Linked DNA regions of Homo sapiens: region 1 is linked to region 2. Evidence: promoter capture Hi-C in human tissues and cell types (Jung and others, 2019). All regions are on one chromosome and are shown on one strand. Each heading gives the region's core, a stretch centred on a gene start or on the middle of the fragment in contact. The rest is flanking DNA. Distances are from core to core; before and after follow the strand shown.

What was found. Contacts are between HindIII fragments. The study calls those that stand out against the background at their distance.
Region 1: a contact is called between a fragment that was not itself captured here and the fragment with the promoter of ZNF445 in region 2, in 2 of the 25 tissues and cell types used here (pancreas and spleen).

What each region holds. Positions count from the first base shown.
Region 1 is chr3:44,425,724-44,432,831 of GRCh38, reverse strand. It overlaps LINC01988 (long intergenic non-protein coding RNA 1988), which reads right to left and starts at 4,910. Exons shown (of 4, transcript NR_144436.1): 1 at 4,674-4,910; 2 at 4,208-4,277; 3 at 3,891-3,985; 4 at 3,303-3,766. ZNF445 (zinc finger protein 445) reads left to right here. Exons shown (of 8, transcript NM_181489.6): 8 at 1-1,127. It also overlaps the pseudogene C3orf86P. The HindIII fragment of the contact is 6,393 bases long and covers 1,940-7,108 here.
Region 2 is chr3:44,475,652-44,482,359 of GRCh38, reverse strand. ZNF445 (zinc finger protein 445) reads left to right here and starts at 4,690. Exons shown (of 8, transcript NM_181489.6): 1 at 4,690-4,769. It overlaps LOC101928529 (a long non-coding RNA gene), which reads right to left and starts at 4,670. Exons shown (of 4, transcript XR_940785.4): 1 at 4,151-4,670; 2 at 3,691-3,778; 3 at 632-750. RefSeq lists silencers at 4,713-4,872, 4,893-4,942. The HindIII fragment of the contact is 14,864 bases long and covers 1-6,708 here.

The DNA.
Region 1 (7,108 bases), core at 3,887-6,386, 50 kb after region 2:
CTTCGCCAGCTGGTTCCTTGTTGGGTTCTGCCATTCAGGGATGTAAGAGGGAAGCTGGGATGTTGGAGGACTGGAGTGTGAGGGTAAATTTTAGGTGTCAACTTGGCTGAGCCACAAGGTCCCCAGGTATTTGATCAAACATTATGCTGGGTGTTTCTGTGAGGTTGCTTTGGATGAGATTAACGTTTAAATTTGTGGACTTTGAGGAAAGCAGATTGCCCTCTATCTGTGGGTGGGCTTCATCCAATCACCTGAAGACCTGAGGAGAACATAAAGTCTGGCTGCCCCAGACTCTCTCTCAGGCAAGAGAGAATTCTTCCGCAGACTGCCTTCAGAGTTCATGCACACCATCTACTAATCCTGCTCCACAGCAGGTGCCACTGGGCTCTCACTGGAATATGTATTCTCCTGGTTCTCCAGCCTGCTCATCCACCCTGAAGATTTGGGACTTGCCAGCCTCCTTAATTCTATAAGCCAATTCCTTATCATAAATTCATAAATCCCTCTCTCTCTATCTCCATCCACACACACACACACACACACACACACACACACACAGACACACACACACAAATGAGTGTAGATGTGTTCCAATAAAACTTCATTTAGAGACATTGAAATTTAAATTTCAAGGGCTGGGCATGGTGGCTCAACGCCTGTAATCTCAGCACTTTGGGAGGCTGAGGCAGGTGGATCACTTGAGGTCAGGAGTTCGAGACCAGCCTGGCCAACATGGTGAAACCCCGTCTCTACTAAAAATACAAAACATGTAGCCACGTGCAGTGGCTCATGCCTGTAATCCCAGCTGGGAGGCTAAGATGGGAGAATAGCTTGAACACAGGAGGCAGAGGTTGCTGTGAGCTGAAATGGTGCCCAGAAGACAGAGCGACCCTGTCTCAAAAAAATAAAAAATAAAAAATAAATTTCATATAATCTTCAGATATATTCATTCATTTACATATTGTCTGTGGTTGTTTTCACCCTTTAGGTCAGAAGTAGCCGACAACCTTTACACAGTATTTACCACTGTTATAGACATCTTTAAATATGGTTTACTTTTGCCTGTTTTTGTACTTTATAGAAATGAAGTAATAAAGTATTGTCTGTCTTGCATTTTTTGCTCAAAATTACGTTTGTCAGTTTTATGTATGTCATTGCATGTGATGATGCTGTATTTTCATTATATCATGGTATTCTGTGTATGATGATACCACTGTGGAGCTCTAGCCCACTCTTTTTTTTTTCTTCTTTCTTTCTTTTTTTTTTTTTTTTTTTTTTTTTTTTGAGACGGAGTCTTACTCTGTCACCCAAGCTGGAGTATAGTGGTAGTATCTCGGCTCACTGCAACCTCCGCCTCGCAGGTTCAAGTGATTCTCCTGCCTCAGCCTTCCAAATAGCTGGGATTACAGGCATGCGCCACCATACCCGGCTAATTTTTGTATTTTTAGTAGAGACGGGGTTTCACCATGTTGGCCGGAGTGGTCACGAACTGCTGACCTCAGGTGATCCACCCGCCTCAGCCTCCCAAAGTGCTGGGATTGCAAGCATGAGCCACCGTGCTCAGCCATCCAGCCCACACTTTATGGACATTGGGCTCTGCCTAGTTTTTGTCCTGGCTCACTGGGGATGGCCTATGTCCAGCTCTATGAAATTTGTAGCAGGCCTTTGAGTTCCTTTTAGCAACGCTTGATTGTGCCAGATCTCTCCATGTTCACTAATATCATAGGCTTGCTATGAGAAGCAACACCCAAAATCTTGTCTTTGCTAGCAGCACCAGGGCTATCTCCTACAAAGACTGCCTCTTCAGAGCCACAGCTCACAACTGCCTTGGCTGGGGTGTATGAGTGGCTGATTTTTTTCAAACTTGCAAGGCACCAAATTATTCAACTGTTTGTGTGTGGCAGGCCAGTCAGGGGTTACCTACATTAACAACACTCTGGATCCTTCTAGCTCTCCTTGCACACTGGCAAGCTCCAGCCAGAGACCACTTTTCTCACAGGACTTTGTTAAAAGCAGCCAAGGAGGAGCCAACAAAACCAGCATTCTGGATTCTTGCCGTTTTCCTAATGCCACAGATTTGGTCAAATTATGATCCACCCTCCAAGCTAACACAGGCTGCAACCTGGCCAAACATTTTACATGAGGTGCCAGCCTCCCCATCTCGAGGACGGGGATACTGCTAAACATTCTACACTGCCCAGTGCTGTCGCAACAACAAGGAATTATCCAGTCCCAAATGTCAAGAGTGCCAAGATTAAGGAACACTGCTTTATTTTATTTTATTTTTTTTTTTGAGACAGAGTGTTGCTCTGTTGCCCTGGCTGAAGTGCAGTGGTGCTATCCTAACTCACTGCAGCCTCAAACTCCTAGCCTCAAGTGATCCTCCCACCTTAGCCTCCTGAATAGCTAGGGCTACAGGTGCGTAACACCACACCCAGCTAATTTTTTAAAAACTTTTATGTAGAGATGGGGGTCTTGCTAGGCTGGTTTGAACTCCTGGCCTCAAGTGTTGCTTCTGTCTCGGCCTCCCAAAATGCTGGAATTACAGGCATGAGCCACAGTGCCCAGACCAAAACCGTTCTTTAGCAAGACATTCCTGTAGTCCAGGTCTGCTCATGGTAAACTTTTTATCTTGAAAGTCTTCATAGTTCCCTAATTGTTGAATAATTAGCTGAACGTACAAATCTGAGATGTCTGATTTTTTTCAGTATGTTAATGATACTATTTCATTAAATTTTATCATTTTTAATTTCAATTCATCAGATATTTTCCCTAGCAGCTTTCAAGGTTTATCTTCAGTGTTTCATGCTTTTGCTACAATGTAACTAAGTGTGGATGTTTTCAATTATCCTCTGTGGGATTCAGTGGCATCCCTCACTCTGAGAATTCCTGTTTTCCATCAATTTTGGGAAATTCTCAGCTTTATCTCTTGGATGTAGCCTCCCCTTTCCCTGTGTGATCTCCTAGAGCCTGTCTGTGCTCTGTTGGAACTTTTCCTTCAAATGTCCTGTCACCCATCTCTGGACTCCTTAAGGAAGATTGCACTTCAGATCTTGTTTGAGTTCACTTGGCCCCTCTGCTACCTGCATCTTATCTTTTTTGTGCGTGGGTGATGGAGTTTTGCTCTGTCGCCCAGGCTGGAGTGGCGCGATCTCAGCTCACTGCAACCTTTACTGCGCCCGGCCTGCTAACTGCATCTTATCTGATGTTTAATCTGTCCCTTGAGTTTTTATTTCTAATGATATTTTTCATCTCCAAAATGGGAAAAGCACATGTTAGCACAAATAATGAAACACTGGATATTGTTTTCTAAGGAATTTATTTGAAAGAATTATATCTATGGAAAATAAATATTCCAAAAAAGCTCTGAATTTTAGATGTTGAGATATTTCAAAGGTCAAACCAGGCCACGATTTGTGCTGGGTTGAAGGCCTGTGAGGACCCCATGTGGGACCCCCTGTGTGACGATCACAGCCTGGAGGATGACCTTCTGGGGGCTGAAGGGCATCACATTTTTGGACAAATCATAAATGTAGGAAAGCTCTGGGGCTGGTGGGAGTGGCTTGGGGGATGGGAAATGTGGGGCTCAGTGGCATAGGGAGTGGTACCTGTGGCCCACGCTTTCGGGGAGGGCCTGGGAGGGGGAAGCGCAGGATGCTTGTGTCAGGCAGTAGCAGAGGGCTCCTGGCATCAGCAGGCACCGGGCCAGTGCTTCTTGGGCCACTTTCTCTTAGGCAGCAGCAGGGGGTGTCCCTGGACTCCGTGCCTGTGTGGGAACACGAGATGGGCCTCTGGGACAGGGAGGAGCCACCTCCCCAGCACCACATCCAGACAGGGGTCCACATTGCAGGATCCGCAGAGAAGCAGGAAATGGTGCAGGAGGATCTAACCTGGATGCAGGGTAGGTTATTTGTTCTGTGACTTCATTTGCCCACATGCATGTGAGTAGAGGCTTGTTCCTTGACCCCAATTGACTTTTAGACATCTGAAGGAGAGAAAAGACAGCCTAAGTGAGTTCTCCATCAGTGGGCAATAGAGGAACTCACCCTCATGCTGCACACCTTCAAAGAAACTGTGTGGTCTGTGGACTTCAACAAACTAACCCATGCTCCAGGGGTACAGACTTTGTCAGACAATTTAAAAGCTTTCCCAAGAATAGGAGAGGGCTCATAAGCTGTCCCAAGTGAATTTCTAGGTTTGAACAAACCTTCAGTAAGAAACACGGTGGACACCTCCAAGTCATCCTCTCCTGACACACGTTTGCCAAGGTCCATTTCCTATGAATTGATAGGTTCTATTAGTTTTTATTTATTTATTTATTTTTTGAGACAGAGTTTCACTCTTGCTGCCCAGGCTGGAGTGCAATGATGAGGTCTTGGCTCACTGCAACCTCCGCCTCCCTGGTTCAAGTGATTCTCCTGCCTCAGCCTCCCAAGTAGCTAGGACTACAGGCGTGTGCCACCATGACTGGCTAATTTTTTGTATTTTTAGTAGAGAGGGGGTTTCACCATGTTGGCCAGGCTGGTCTCAAACTCCTGATCTCAGGTGATCCATCTGCCTTGGCCTCCCAAAGTGCTGGGATTACAGGCATGAGCCACTGTGCCCGACCGGTTCTGTTACTTTTATAAGGCATGAAGGGATAATCCTTCCTGGTGAAATCTGAAAGTCCTTACCTTCTAGGTTACTGAGGTTTCGAGGTCTGGGCAGCCGATTGGCTGTCTGATGTGAGGTGGAGAAGATGGGCCTGGTCAAAGGGGCAGCCTTTGGATTGGAACTGGATGCCCAGTCTGTCTGGGAGAAGGAAGGCAGTGAAGGGAAGGACCACGAAAAGGAGTGGCAGAAGACTGGCAGTCCCTTCACCCCACAGCCCTCTGCTTCATTCTCTGGCAGCTGTCCCTGACCTTTGTGACATCGAGGTCCCAGCCAATCACAGCACTCACTCCTGCTGTCCCAACAGCCTCCAAGGCAAATCTCTGGAGACTCCACCCACTGAGCTCCTCCCCTGGGGTTCTCTAAGCACTCTGAATTTGTGGACAAAAGCCCCTTTACTACCAGCATAACTACATACTTCACTTTCACAAGTTGGCATGCCTGGGTGAGGGCAATTATTTTAGTCATATGAGCTTCGATTTCTGGGAGAGTCAAGTCAATTCAGTTTTTGAGAGTGCTCTATATTTCAAGGGTGAATTTATATCTGTTATTTTACTTTATTTATTTATTTTTGAGAAAGGGTCTCGCTCTGTCATCCAGGCTGGAGTGCAATGGCATGATCTCGGCTCACTGAAGCCTCCGCCTCCTGGGTTCAAGCGATTCTTGTGCCTCAGCCTCCCGAGTAGCTGGAACTACAGGCGTGTGCCTCCACGCCCAGCTAAGTTTTGTATTTTTGGTGTAGAGATGGGGTTTCACTATGTCGGCCAGGCTGGTCTCTAACTCCTGGCCTGAAGTGATCCACCTGCTTTGGCCTCCCAAAGTGCTGGGATTACAGATGTGAGCCACCATACCCGGTCAAAATTTTTTATTTTAAATAAGTTATGGAAATGATGAAAACATTTCATTTACAAAATAAATGTGGGCCGGGCGCTGTGGCTCATGCCTGTAATCCCAGCATTTTGGGAGGCCGAGGCGGGTGGATCACCTGAGGTCGAGAGTTTGAGACTAGCCTGGCCAACATGGTGAAAACCCATCTCTACTAAAAATACAAAAAATTAGCTGGGCATGGTGGCACACACCTGTAATCCCAGCTACTCGGGAGGCTGAGACAGGAGAATCGCTTGAACCTGAGAGGTGGAGGTTGCTGTGAGCCGAGATTGTGCCACTGCACTCCAGCCTGGGGACAGAGTGAGGCTCCATCTCAAAAATAAATAAATAAATAAAATTAATGTAGGAAATTTAGGAAGTTTGAATTATAAGAAATCTAATTTTGGTCTGGAATAAGCCAAAATATTGTACTAACATTTTTTAAAAAAATAAACTAATAAGGAGTGAATCATGCTAACATTTTCCTTTATTTTGAAGTTGGCGTCTTTTCTTTTGTCATAGCTAGTTTAAAAGGTTATCAGGGAAATACATTTTCTAGTGTCCATAAAAAATAGTTCAATAACTTTTTTCTTTAGACAATTTAGACTTTACCTGAACTAAAAATTCCTAGAATATATGCATAACGGCTGAATGTAATTTTTGTTAAGTCTTTCATTTTGTTAAGTTTTCAAAAGAGGGAAAAGGAGAGGAAATGGGATAGAAAAAAAATGAGAGGGAGCTGGCTTTAGACAAATAACTAATCATTTTTCTCTGTAAGAAGAGGGATGAAAGTTTAGACATATATACAATACACACACGAGAGTGTCCTATATCTGGTTTTGACATAATTTCAGTTTGTGACAATTCTATCAAGCCATACAATTTTTTAAAAGCCAGAATGTATTAATCTCCAACTTATGGAAAGGAAGGAAGTGATGCCTCCCTGTGAAACAAAATGATCTGTCATTTAGGCAAACAAGACAAAGATTTTCCTCATGAGGGGTCTTTTATTCTTGATATCCAGAGTCTCCTTAAAATGTTTAGCCAAGCCCAGGTGCAGTGGCTCATGCCTGTAATCCCAGCACTTTGGGAGGCCAAGGCCGGTGGATCATGAGGTCAGAAGATCAAGACCATCCTGGGTAACATGGTAAAGCCCTGTCTTAGCTAAAAATACAAAAAAAATTAGCCGGGCATGGTGGCGGGCGCATGTAACCCCAGCTACTTGGGAGGCTGAGGCAGGAGAATGGTGTGAACCCGGGGAGGCAGAGCTTGCAGTGAGCTGAGATCACGCCACTGCACTCCAGCCTGGGTGACAGAGCGAGACTCCATCTCAAAAAAAAAAAAATGTTTAGCCAAATATTGATGTTTATGCAATAGAGTGATTTGCCAGCCAACATTTTTGTTTACCCAACATAGTGACAGTTTTGGACCTGAAGCCTTTCACAAAATGTGGCAAGGGCATTGGAAATGTCAACATTTTAAAGATGCTTGGTCGGGCACGGTGGCTCATGCCTGTAATCCTAGCACTTTGGGAGGCTGAGGTGGGTGGATCACTTGAAGTCAGAAGTTTGAGACCAGCCTAGCCAACATC
Region 2 (6,708 bases), core at 3,441-5,940:
GGCTTCTAGTACCCATACTGACACTTCCTATTTCTTTCTTCAGATAGAGAATAAGGAAAGCAGGAGGAGCAGGTTTGCCTGGGGCACAGGTGGTGAGTGAGTTGTTGGTGCCATTGGAATGATAACACATCATGAACTAATTCTATTAGTTGTGTCAAGTCTCGGAACTTCCACCTCCAGACTTTCTTTTTTTTCTTTTCTTTTTTTTTTTTTTTTTGAGACGGAGTCTTGCTCTGCCGCCCAGGCTGGAGTGCAGTGGCGTGATCTCAGCTCACTGCAAGCTCCGCCTCCCGGGTTCACGCCATTCTCCTGCTTCAGCCTCCCGAGTAGCTGGGACTACAGGCGCCCGCCACCACGCCCAGCTAATTTTTTTGTATTTTTAGTAGAGACGGGGTTTCACCGTGTTAGCCAGGATGGTCTCGATCTCCTGACCTCGTGATCCGCCCGCCTCGGCCTCCCAAATTGCTGGGATTACAGATGTGAGCCACTGTGCCTGGCCTCAGACTTTCTATAAGAGAGCTTTGCTCCCTCATGGGCTCTTGTAATGCCAAAGCTTTGCTTTCTAAGCCTGTCTGTGATACAGACTTATTACAGAAATCAAAGCTAACATGATTGTTTTCTTTCCCCTTACATTCTTTCTCTAATAAGGCCAGCACCCTCTCCTCTCTTCCTGCTTCTCTCTCTCTCTCTTTTTCTCTCTCTCTCTTGGCAACGGGTGTCAGTGAACAGGAGGAGGATCACTTCAGGGCCCTGAGGAAAAATAAAATTTTGAAGATTATTTAGTGATGTGATAAAAAACACTTGACATTAGAATGGCAAGTGAAAAAAAGGCAGGACAGAAGCAGTTGTCAAAAGATGAAATTACGACAAATTTAGTTTGAAGACTAAATTAGGCCAGGTGCAGCGGCTCACGCCTGTAATCCCAGCACTTTGGGAAGCTGAGGTGTGTGGATCACCTGAGATCAGGAGTTCAAGGCCAGCCTGGCCAACATGGTGAAACCCTGTCTCTACTAAAAATACAAAAATTAGCTGGGTGTGGTGGTGGGCGCCTGTAATCTCAGCTACTCAGGAGGCTGAGGCAAGAGAATCACTTGAACCCAGGAGGCAGAGGTTGCAGTGAGCTGAGATCGTGCCACTGCACTCCAGCCTGGTGACAGAGTGAGACTCCGTCTCAAAAATAAATAAATAAATAAATAAATAAATAATAAAGACCAAATTAGGTTTTGTTAGTGATTCTAGATTCGGGCAACATCTCATTCTATAAAATAGAACGGGTATTCTGATAAGCTGAACAGAGGAGATTGGCTTTATAAGCAGAAAAAGGCCAAAGAAAGCAAAAATAGGGAACCAAAGGCAGACTGGTTGGCATTAGTTATTTCAGATTACTTTCCTTGTAAGGATTAAAGCGGAGGGGCCTTCGTTATCATGCCAGCTAAATCTGGCCTGTTTGAGGATTTGGCTATTATCACAATAGAGACCTCCTAAGGGCCTGGGTTAGACATAGAGAAGATTGATTAGTCAACAAATGTTTATTGAGTACATACTATGTAGTCAGTGCTGTTCTAAGTACTTGAGGTATAGCAATGCATAAAAGCAAAGATTCCATAGTTTTTCTTCCTCATGGCTATGGTCTGACTCAAAGATTCTTTCACCCCCTCCACTACCAATAAAGTTTAAATTCGTGTATATTCTCTCCTGGCTTCCTGATCCTCTCTCTTTCTCTACTTTTATGTTCAGATGCAAGGAATATCCTCTGCAGAAAAAGATGGAGGGTGGAGGAGGGAGTTGAGTTCAATTTTTCATTTTAAGTCCTTCATTAGTACTAAATGCATCAGTATTTCTTTGATATAAATGATAATTTTAAAATTCATTTAAAGTTGGATCACCTTCTAAAATCTCATTAAAATGTATTTTTCAATATCTTAGAATTAGAGGCAGAAGGGGGAATTCAGAGAAGATTAATTATATGATATAATATGTAATATATTTCAAATGGCCACAATTACACATAATTTAACTGCTTAAACATTTGTTTTATGTTTTTCTTATAGAAGAGTACACTAATCCAATGGATCACAGTAATCACCATCCTCAGATACATTGCTCTATTTTATTTTCATCCTAATATTTCAACCTGCCTCCTTCAAACTACAGAGAAGGGGCTGAGTTTGAGGCCAGAAAAGGAGTGAAAATCCTACCAGGCCAATTTGTTTGCCCACAACTGATTCTTAGTTTTAACATCTTATCTCTTTTCTCAAGTCACATTCCAGATCCCCATCTCAACACCCCAATTTTTTCTTCCCCATTTCAAAATAAGAAGAAAAAAATTAAGGAGGAAATTTCCCCCTTCTGTTTGAAAGGCAGAATCCTGATACACTTTAAATTCCAAAACAAAGAAGCAAATGAACATGCAATCCTTTAGCATGTGGTTTTTACATGTAGCAAGGAATCAGGGTAAAAGGATAATTATCTACTTCCAGGTTCTCAAATGTTGGAATCATCTAGGGATTTTAAAATCTAGGCTTGTCAGTGTCTCACCCACAAAGATTTGGATTGAATTGATATGAGGTATGGACTTTTTAAAAGCTCTGAGGAGGATTCTAATCTGCAGCAAAGTTAAGAACCACTGATTTACATGCACAGTTCTTTGCTTCTCCAAGTGTGGTCCAAGAACTGCAATATGGGTACACCTGGAAGTTTGTTAAAAATATTCGTTGGTCCCTCCCCAGACCTCCTGAATTTGAATCTACAGTTTAACCAGATCCCAAGTGATTTGTATTCATATGCACATGAGAATTTGAGAATCTTACCTAGGGCTTTTACTAAGCAAACTGCCCCGATCTGAAAGAGTACAGTGCTCAGGAAGTACAGCTAGCAAGAATATGCCTCCTACCAGAAAAGTGAAGAAACCTCATGGTTATAGGCTCGAGTGCTGTGGCACTCGGAGAAATCAGGTATTAGCAGAACTTCGAGATTCAAGAAGCTGTATAGGTCTTAAAATCAGAGCTGCACTCCCAGTGGCTGCTTCCCGAACTTTGCAAGTGCTGGTGAAGCCAATTTGGTTGATCTGTTTGATCACACTAAATGTGGGTGCTATCCATGCTAACCACCTATCACGTTGAAAAACATCCAGTAAGTACATCCCAAACACAGAGAACCTGCTCAAACTCTTCTACGATGGGAAAATTTTGTTCTCAAACAAAACTTGAAAACTCTTCTCACCACTATGGGTGGTTCTGAGTCACTCAAGAACATTATATCGAGTGGAAATTAATGGACAAATTAGGCATTGACAAGCAGTTTCTATTTTCCTTTTTGTATGTGTTGGATATTTTCCAATTGCCCCTCCATATTCAGTCTCAGTCCTCAACCCTGCTGTGACACTTGGGAGACTGAGTTTCCTGGATTGCCCTCTGGCTTCCAGTTGAGTTGGGCCAATGGGAAGCCCTGGCAGGAGATCAGAAGAGAGCTGGGTTCAGGTTATTTATTACCTCAGCTTCCTTTGTGCTGGACTATGGCTTGGATGTAGCCCTCAACTGAAAGCCACAGTTTCTCTCAGATGGCCTGCTCCTAGGGGTGAGAATAGCTTCTAAATTTTGCTAGCCATGGGATTCTGCACCACTCCGTGTTGCATTTCCTTAACCCTGTCCACTTTGTGTAAATCGCCCCTTGTGAACTCTCCCCACTTACCTTGTTTGAATGTGCCATCTGTTTCTCTATCACCTTGTCACCATCTTCCTGGTGTTCAGGATCTATTCTCTGTTTCCATCTTTGGTGACTGGGGCATTAAAAAGGGGTGGATCAGATGAGTAAAGCAAAGCCTCAGGGCACAGATGGGCATCATCAATGCCCATCTGAAAGATCAATCGTCAACATGTTGCAGCCTGCCACTAGGAAGCACAAACCAGAGGACTACCAGGACAGCAGCTTGTAGCATGCCCTCCAATGGCAGCAGATGGCCTTATGGCTTTGGCTGTGCACCCTCAAGGTTCTCTGGCACTGGCAATAGATGACATTTGCTCCTACAGGGGGTGGGCAACCTCTCCAGGTTGCTTCACCTCCTCTTCAAGCAGCCCCTCCACCCCCTACCCCCAACCTACTCCTCCCAGATTCCACATATTATTGGGCAATGGCATCATTGTTCACTCACCAGGCGAGCCTAGTTAGAATTCACCCACAGGAGAAAACGAGTGAAGGCCGTGGGAAGCTAAAGTATGGTGCACCTCTGAGCTGGCTATGAACAAGTATTCCTGGGTATGGTGATGATGGGGATGAGCTCGTCTTGGAAAGGCAGGAGTTCTGGCACCTAGCTTCCCGTAGGATCTGGTTCCCCTCTTTGAAGTGTACCCAGGCGAAGAATGAGTGGCTCCCTTAACCCCTTCTCCTGGCCAGGACCAGTCTGCTAGATACTGCTGGCCCTATTTTCACCCCTAGCTTTGGATCCCTTTCTTCCCTGGAGGGAAAGAGGCCTTCAGGGCAGCCCCGCAGACACGACAGGAGGGATGCAAGAAAACAGGCGCGGCTGGGCATCCGAGCGTGGAAGGGAAATGTCCAACTGAGGGAGGTGAGGGATGTTGGACAAGCCCCGCCGCCCGCCGCACCGGAGCCGGAGAGAAGCAGAGACGTTGGGCCTCCCAGTTTCCTAGAGAGGCCGCGGAGGGCCCCGGGCGCCGACGCGCGTGCGCGACTGGAGCCGCCGGGAGGTAGGCGCGGGACGGGCGGCTGCGGTGGCGGCGGGTGGACCGATTGTCGCTCGGCGGCGGGAGTCGGTGAGAGGCCTGGCGGGGCGCGGGGGTGGGGGTGGCGGCATTGCGGGCGCGGGGCTCCCCGAAGTCCGCGGCATTCTCGGGCCTGCCCGGGCGGCGGACGGGGCCCGGCCTGGAGGCTGCGCCCGTGGCGGGGGTCTGGCGGTGGATCCCGCCCCCGCCACGCTGAGGGCGTATCTAGAACCTCTTTGCCTCCCAGGCGTCCGGGGTAGAGAATCTGGAGCCCGGGTTTCTCCGGGCTTTCTCGTTTCATCCAATTCTGCATATAAAGCGTATTTATCAGAGACAATTAGATAACACGGGAAAGTAGAAGAAAAGTAAAAGTAGCCGCAATCCTGAAATCTGTCTCCAGGCCTCCTGACATTTAAAATATCTGTGCATAATTCTGCACACTGACATCCATAAATATATATTACGAAATGAGAGCGTGCTCTTGCTTTTTAAAAAACCTGTTAGTATTATTGTGAGGAAACAATATTGTGCCAAAATAACACATAACATTTACCATACAATACATAAACGTTTACCATTTAACCATTTGGAAGTGTGTAATTCAGTGACATTAAGTATATCCATACTACTGCTTTTTAAAAATTATAATCTCCTGAATTTGTAGAATGCATTTGTTCTTATTTTGGCTAAAATTAGTGCTGGCATTATGACACCACTAAAACATTTTTTTTTTGGCGAGGATAATTAAGAAATCGTGTTTGCAGTTTATTTTCTGTAGGAGACACATTTGCATGAAGCTCTAAATGGTGAAGTGACATTTGTGCAGAAAAATAGCAAAATCTTGTTTGTCAGGGTGGTTATCTTTCACAATGAAGTAACTAGTATATAAAATGCAGTTTTTAAACAAAGGCAGAGCTCTAACCTGCAGCGATTGTAGCACACTCTGACTTGCACAGGCCTAAGAGATCAGAGTATTGTCTCCTTCCGAATTTAAAAGTGGTGGCCAGGAAAGAATGTTATTCTGTTTCAAACGGCTTGTAGTGCAAAACTAAAAACTCAGTATTAGGTTGGTTGTTTTGCAAGGAAGTGCCAGGGAGTGGTTTGAGCAGTAATTTGATTAAGCAGTTTCAGAGAGCCTCCATGTGTTGTGTGTGTGTCTGCGTGTGTGTGTGTGCATGCATGTGTGTGCATATTCAGGGACCAAAGAATTAGGCTGCTCTTTTATGTTATCTTAATGAAAGGCAGACACATTTTGGTTAGAAAAAAAAAAAAGTCTTACTGTAAGCCGAAAAGATGAGAATGTTTTGAAGATAAACCTCAGTATGCACTTAAAAAGGAAACTGACAAAAAGCATGAAAAATGGCAAGTATTCCACCGCTAGGTTTTCTCTGGCTTCCGGTATCCAGGAAGAATTAGTGCATAAGCAGTCTACGATGTCAGAGAGTAAACTATAGTAAAACATAACACTGTATTTTGCAATTTTCAAGATTTTGTATTAGAAACAATGTGAAAGAGTACATTTCTGTGACTCTCAGGCGAATTGTTAGGTGTTCTGTAAGATTGAATTTATGAATTTCTTTTTTTCCTTCCTATTCTTAAATTTATTTTCTTTTTCCTTGTTTATTTTATTTATTTTATTTTTGAGACGGAGTTTCACTCTTGTTGCCCAGGCTGGAGTGCAGTGGTGCAAACTCGGCTCACTGCAGCCTCCGCCTCCTGGGTTCAAGTGATTCTCCTGCCTCAGCCTCCCAAGTAGCTGGGATTACAGGTGTGTGCCACCACGCCCAGCTAATTTTTGTATTTTAAGTAAAGACGGGGTTTCACCGTATTGGTCAGGCTGGTCTCGAACTCCCGACCTCAGGTGATCTGCCTGCCTCAGCCTCCCAAAATGCTGGGATTACAGGCGTGAGCCACCGTGCCCGCCTCTTGTTTTATATTACTATGTAGCAGCTGTCACTGTTTAGCATACCACGAATCTGTCTCCTCATAG